2 separate regions of the Homo sapiens genome follow, and region 2 is linked to region 1. Evidence: promoter capture Hi-C in 16 types of primary human blood cells and fetal thymus (Javierre and others, 2016). All regions are on one chromosome and are shown on one strand. The core of a region is centred on a gene start or on the middle of the fragment in contact, and the rest is flanking DNA. Distances in the headings are between cores, read along the strand shown.

Region 1 (3,507 bases), core at 434-2,933:
ACGCGCTGGATGAGGGCCCACCCTAACAGCCTCATTGAATCTCCTGTGTGTTTTGTAACTGATGTTGCTGTCTCCCCCAACGGAGCTCCTTCGGGGCCTAAGCACTTCTGAGTCGTCTCTGGGCCCCCACCTCTGGCTGCAGGATTTTAAGCCAAGGCGTGCAGCCGGGGGACAGCAACGTGAATACGCCGGGAGGGGCACGGGGAGCCTAAGCACAGGGAGGCCCAGGGAAGGGGTCCCCAGTAGGGACGCTGGTGCTCTCGGGCCCCTGCCCATGCCACCCTTGCCTGCCAACCCTCTTCGCATGCAGCGGCACCCTCCTGCCACTGGCATGAGCTTTTCTTTCCAAGTAAGTTTCAGATCCACATTTCCCAGGCCTCAGAGCGGCAGCTGAGGGAGGGAGGAGGCTGGGCAGGCCTCGCTGCTGCACACCCCACTGTGTGCCACGATCAGGTACTGCCTGCTAGGACTCTGACTGGGCCCACGGTGGCTGCAGGACTGTCCTGGGGCCTTCACTGCATGGCCTGAACAGGGGCTGGGCTCCCAGGGAGGAATGATTCATGGCTGGTTCCCGCCCTATAGACAAGACAGTCACAAGGAGCTGGCAGGGTAAGACCTGTATATGCTGCCACCTGGTGCCAGGCACAGCAGCAAGGCCACGTGGACCTAGCCCACCTCACCTCTGCCTGCAGCAGCAGGGCTGGGTAGGGGAGCCGAGGGGAGGGGCAGGCCTCAGACCTCAGTGTCACATCCAGGCAGTGTCAGTGTGAGCCTAGGCTCTGCCACACTGGAGCCCTGTGCTCTTGGGCAAGTGACTTAACCTCTGTGAGCACAGTCTTCACTGATAAATCAGGGAGGGATGTGCCCTCCGAACCAGGTTGTGGCTGCTTCCTATGGGGCTGTGTTAAGCACTGCGGACGCAGAGACTGGAGCTTGCATGAAGGCGCACGGCGTGCTCTGAAGGCAGGGCTGGAGTCCCTGCAGGCTGGTGATTCCTTCAGCTGTGGGGTCAAGGAGGCCTTCCTGGGGAGGCGGTGAATTGGGGCCACAGGGGCCGTGTCTCTCCAAGTCTGGGGCCCAGGCTCCGGTTCCTAGGGCCAGCTCGGGGGCGGCTGCTCAGCTGTCTGCTCTGTGGCTTCAGGCCCCAGAGCAGTTCAAAGGGCCAGCGCCCCCGCCCCCTAAAAAGACCTCCGCCTCCTGAAAGCCTTACCTGCCTGTCGGGGCCCAGCTGCAGGCCCCCTCCCAGGCCGACAGGACGCCAGGATCGTAGAGGGCACCCGCCGCCCAAGGTCACGTCGCCCGTGGCGCCCCCATCCAGGCCCGCCCCCCGCCGCGCCCGATCGCCAGGACTGCGTTTCCACGCCGCCCGGACCCCGCCTGAACCGAGGCCCGCGCGGAAGGCGCCACTGAGTCCCGGCCGGCCGCGGGAGCGCCAGATTCAGCACCCGGCACCCGCCGGAGAAGAGAGGAGAGAAAGGCAGCCGCCTCCCGGCCCCAGCGCCCTGGCCTCGGCCAGCCCCATCCCGGCCCCTTCCTCCTCCCTCTTCTCCCCTTCTCGGGTCCCCCCGTCTCTCCCTGGCTCCCGGCCCCTCCTCTACCCACGCCTCCTCCTCGCCCCCGCCCCGCCCGTCCCCTCCGCGGTCCCCGCCGCCCGCGTACGGGGTGACGCAGCGCCGCCTCCCGCCGCCCGCCGCCCGCCGCCCGGGCCACTGCAGGGGCCGCTAACGGTCCGGCGCCCCTCGGCGTCCGCGCGCCCCCAGCCTGGCGGACGAGCCCGGCGGCGGAGATGGGGGCGACGGGGGCGGCGGAGCCGCTGCAATCCGTGCTGTGGGTGAAGCAGCAGCGCTGCGCCGTGAGCCTGGAGCCCGCGCGGGCTCTGCTGCGCTGGTGGCGGAGCCCGGGGCCCGGAGCCGGCGCCCCCGGCGCGGGTGAGTGTCGCCGCCGCCCGGGTTCGGCCGGACCTGGCCAGGGAGCGGGGGCGGCTTGGGGGACCCGGCTGGGGGGACCGGGTGCAGGGAGCGAGCGGCTGTGGTAAGGCCGGGGGCCCTGGGAGCGCAGGCGCCAGGGAGGGGTCGGGGCAGGCGGGAGGGAGGCCGGGGCCAGGGGCCGGGCTGTGCGCCGCCGTCTGCTCCGGGAACCCGAGGACAAAGCGCCGCGCAGTGGAGGGGAGGCCGGCGCCCCATCCCCGCGGGGAGGTGGGACCCGGGGCGCGGGGTCGTGGCCCCCGGTGCGGTCTGTCCGCAGGGCACCTCTGGACAAGACGGACTGTGGATGGATCCCGAGGGGGGGTGCCAGGCGCTCCCCACCGCGCGCATTGCAGTTTACTCCAAGAACAGATGCTTTTCTTTAGCAGGGATCCGAAACCTGAGAGGCGCCCTTGCAGGGTGAGGACTTCCTGTTAAGAAGTTAAAGAAGGGGCCCCTGACTTTCTGTGGGGTGTGCTCCCTGCTCGGGATGGGGGAATTGGTTTCCGTGCCACGGGTTGGCTACTTGCCCCGCAGAGGCCCTCCGGATGAGGAGAAGAGTGACTTTGGTAAACATGGAGGACGCATAGCCCACCCTGGAGAGAGCCCTGCAGGAGGACAGAGGGTTTGTTTTTGTTTTTTGTTGTTTTTTGTTTGTTTTTTGTTTTTTTTTTTTTTTGAGTCGGAGTGTTGCTCTGTTGCCCAGGCTGGAGTTCAATGCCACGATCTTGGCTCACTGCACCTCCGCCTCCTGGGTTCAAGCAATTCTCCCTGCCTCAGCCTCGGAGTAGCTGGGATTACAGGAGCCCGCTACTACGCCCGGCTAATTTTTGTATTTTAGTAGAGACAGGGTTTCACCATGTTGGCCAGGCTGGTCTTGAATTCCTGACCTCAGGTGATCTGCCCACCTCAGCCTCTCAAAGTGCTGGGATTACAGGTGTGAGCAACCGCACCCAGCCTTTTTTCTTTTTAATTATTGGGGTGGGTGTGGCAGAGGCCAGGATTCATGCTGGATGTGCGGAGCTGGAATGGGGTGGGTGTGGCGGAGGCCAAGATTCTCTGGTGGATATTCGGAGCCTGGGATGACACCTTTAGACCCTGTGGGCAGTCGAGGTCAGGAGTTCTTCTGGGCGCTTTCTGGTGCTGAGTGGTGAGGATCTGTGGGTTGGGTTCTGGTGGGGACAGAGTTGAACGTTAGGTGGGGCCAAGGTCGAGGGGTGGTCTCAGACCCATGACCAACACTTGGTTTCCAGCCCTGGGGTCACCTATCTGTGGCTGGGCATCTGAGACTTGACTTTCCTAAGGTATTTCTCATGTCCCCTTTGGTAGAAATGTCACACCCCAAATATCACCCACCAGGGCCCACACACAAGGAGAACAGGTGCCTGACCTGGGCCCGAAGGGTTTGTACTTTGTTGTAAATCCCTAGGCTTCAGGAAGATGACTGCCTCCCCCAAGCACTTCCTAAGTGCGGGCCACTGGGCTTCAAACCGGATGGGTTCCTGAGAGGCAGCTGCTCCCGTCCTAGGGATGCAGGGGCCGA
Region 2 (3,507 bases), core at 646-3,145, 150 kb after region 1:
CTGAAAGCAAGGCAGGCAGCCAGCAGCCCCTCCACGATGCCGGCCACATCCTGGAGGTGCCGGGCGCGGTGTCAGCCAACAAATCAGCCGACACTGGGGTTTTTAAAGCCCCTTGCAGAGCTGGTCACCATACATGTGGGCCGCAGAATTCCAAGACTCTCGGGAGAGAAATTTTGCTTCTGCAGGCGTAGAGGATGTGGTTCCTCCCTGGTGCAGTCGGAACAGTGAAAACATTCAGGAAAGTAACTGAATCGAGCCCCTCCCGGCTGTGAATGACTGAGTTCACCACACAGCCACAGTGGGGCTTCTTCACCTTGCTCGCCATGACTCAGTGCTAACAGCCCACTTCATCCTTTTTTTTTTTTTTGGAAACAGGGCCTCCTCCCTATGTTTCCCAGGCTGGCTTCAAACTCCTGGGCTCTATGGATCCTCCCGCCTTAGCCTCCCAAGGAGCTGGGACCACAGACACGCACCCCTGCACCCAGCTCTGCTGTTTTTAATCGTACAATTAAGCAGTCAGTTATTTAAAAATACACACTTGCCCAACTTAAAAGAACCACACTTATTTATCAATTATGCCAGCTGGGCTGGTGGCAGTAGCAGTGGGCCTCATTCCCTAGGGCACTCTGGGGGCGCAACCCTATGGGGACTGTCCCCCAACTATGGCACCACCTAACCTGAGCCCCGGTGGCCCTGCTGAGCTGGGCGTCAGGATGAGGTCTCGACTCCCGTGACATCAACCAACTTTCCTGGAATGTGCCGTGATGCCCTTGACAAGTGTGGGGACTTGGGGGCGAGAGGGAGGGCCTTGCTGTGTCAAGCCTGCAGGCACAGGAGGGGACACACCAGTCCTGGGCTGGGCCCCAATGTCCACTGATATCACAGATGCTTTCTGACTGTCCCTGGGCATGGCTAACTGAGGGGTGCGGGGGCTGAGGGGTGCGGGGGTTGGCCTTTCTGGGTTTTTTTTTTTTTTTTTTTTGAGACAGAGTCTCGCTCTGTCACCCAGGCTGGAGTGCAGTGGCTTGATCTTGGCTCACTGCAACCTCCGTCTCCCGAGTTCAAACGATTCTCGTGCCTCAACCTCCAGAGTAGCTGGGATTACAGGCACCCACCACCACACCCGGCTAATTTTTATTTTTAGTAGAGACAGGGTTTTGCCATGTTGGCCAGACTGGTCTCCAACTACTGACCTCTGGTATTCCACCTGCCTCAGCCTCCCAAAGTGCTGGGATTACAGGCGTGAGGCACCGTGCACGGCCCGGGGGTGGCCTTTATGAGGGATGCAACCTAGGACTTCAGCAATGTCCGTTAGCCTCTGCCTCATGGAGCTTCAGTAACGTCGTCCAAATGAATTTGGTAAATCTGTCCAAAACAACAAACCCCAACTCCCACCTCAGCCTCCCAAGGAGCTGGGACTACGACATGCACCACCACACCCAGCTAATTTTTTATTTTTAGTAGAGATGGAGTCTCACTATGTTGCCCAGGCCGTTCTCAAACTCCTGAGCTCACGCAATCCTCCCCCTCTCAGCCTCTCAAAGTGCTGGGACTACAGGCATGAGCCACTGCACCCAGCCCTGTTAATTTCTGTTTAAGTCCCTGAAGAGAGAATTTAAGATAACGAGAGATTTCACTATCACACACTGGACCCCGCGGCTGAGAGGGCAGCAGTTTCCCACCTTAGGCCATTCCAGGGCTCTTGCCTTCTCTGGCTGTTTTTTGGGTTTGTTTGTTTTTTTTTCTTTTTCTTTTTAGACAGAGTCTTGCTCTATCACCCAGGCTGGAGTCCGGTGGCACGATCTTGGCTTACTGCAATCTCCGCCTCCCAGGTTCGTGCAATTTTCATCCCACAGCCTCCTGAGTAGCTGGGATTACAGGCACCCACCACCATGCTGGCTAATTTTTGTATTTTTAGTAGAGACAGAGTTTCACCATCTTGGCCAGGCTGGTCTCAGACTCCCGACCACAGACAATCCACCTGCCTCGGCCTCCCAAAGTGTTGGGATTACAGGCATGAGCCAGTGTGCCCGGCCTCTGGCTGTTTTTATAAACTAGTAGTGTCCATCGTCCTTAGCTGTCCTCAGACAACACTGTGGACTCTCCCCCAATCTCTCTGAGCTCCTCCTCCCCTCACCCAAGCACGCCCTGGCGGGACCTCTGCTGCTCTCTCCCTCCCCTGTTGACACTCACCTGGGCCCAGCCCGGGTTTCTCCCCTCCCATTCCCCTCTACCAGGCCACCAAACCAGGCCAGTCACGAGCAACAGGCAGACACCAGCTGACTGGGTGTTAACGGCAGCAGCCCAGGCCTGGTCACACACACAGTGGCCCAGGTCACCTCCTCCTTGGGACGCGCTCCTGGCCAATCCCAGCCCTCGGGGTTAGTGGAGCGCTCACCCATCCCCGGCACCTTCTCAGCTCTCTGCCAAGGACTGGCTGGAGGAAGGACACTGGGAGAGGTCCCCAGTACTCCCGAACCCCACCCACTAGCCACCTTCCCCCAGCTTCCCAATCAAAGCCTCCCACCAAGAGGAATCAGGCCGAGGGCCATCCATGTGGCCCCAGAGCTGTCACAGTCAGACTCCCAGCTCCGCCCCTCTGGACGCAGGAGGCACGCAGGGCACAGGGCTGTCCAGGCGGCCCAGTAGCTGGTGTAGATGTGGGGGCAGGGCTCTGGCCCCCCAGGCCAAGGCTCTCCTGACTGCCACGGCTCTGCCCACCCGGGCCAACAGTAGGCAGGAATCAACCAGACTCAGGGCTCCCAACCAGGCCAGGACCCATCCTGCAAGACTGCCGTGGGAGTTACAGGAGGCGACACGGCCTCCCCACCAATACATGCCGCAGGAACCAGGCAGCAGGGAGGGCCACGAGGGGAGCTGGCTGAAGGGGTAGGGAGAAAGCTGCAGAAAGGGTGTTGACAGGAGGCCTCTCTGAGGGGCTGAGGGAGGGGAGGCAGTCAGGCTGCTGGGGAGCAGGGCAGGGGCTGAGGTCCTGGCAGTGCAGCAGGCCTCAGGGTGCACACAAAGCAGGTGGGTCACCTAGAAACCTGAGGAGTGGGCTGGGCCAGAAGAGTTAAGGATCCACCCCATGAGGCTGAGGAGTGATCTTCCAAAATACTTAAATAAAGCAAACAGAGCGGGACTGGGGGGTAGCCACAGGGCATGGGCCCTGCAGGCAGAGCTGGGAACTCTCAGACACCCGCTTACTCACCTGCAAAGCAGGGGCAGCATGGGCCCTTCCAGGGTCACTGCAGAGGTGGCAGCCACCCCCCACATCCCCTGGCCCCAGCAGGTCTTCAGATAATAGGGCCACCCACTCACCTTCTCCCTGGGCAGCCCTCCCCATCCCCCCAAACAGCCCAGCCCCACACTGGGCCATCTGCCCTCGGGCCACGTGAGGCACAGCCCTCACACCCACGGCTCCCCCATATCAGAGCTGCCCCCACACCCAGGACTCCCCCACATATCAGAGCTGCCCCCACACCCAGGGCTCCCCCACATATCAGA

Evidence for each region. Contacts are between HindIII fragments. The CHiCAGO score rates a contact against its expected background, and 5 or more counts as called.
Region 2: a contact is called between a fragment that was not itself captured here and the fragment with the promoter of CERK in region 1, in 1 of 17 cell types (M0 macrophages). The highest score is 5.1, in M0 macrophages.

What each region holds. Positions count from the first base shown.
Region 1 is chr22:46,736,428-46,739,934 of GRCh38, reverse strand. CERK (ceramide kinase) reads left to right here and starts at 1,683. Exons shown (of 13, transcript NM_022766.6): 1 at 1,683-1,928. The coding sequence starts at 1,787. RefSeq lists enhancers at 841-1,170, 544-1,202, 2,441-2,610, 3,298-3,507 and a silencer at 1,331-2,290. The HindIII fragment of the contact is 34,881 bases long and covers 1-3,507 here.
Region 2 is chr22:46,589,308-46,592,814 of GRCh38, reverse strand. It overlaps a transcript of GRAMD4 not described here. Among named protein-coding and RNA genes, the nearest start is that of GRAMD4, 29 kb to the left of the region's middle. The HindIII fragment of the contact is 4,760 bases long and covers 1-3,507 here.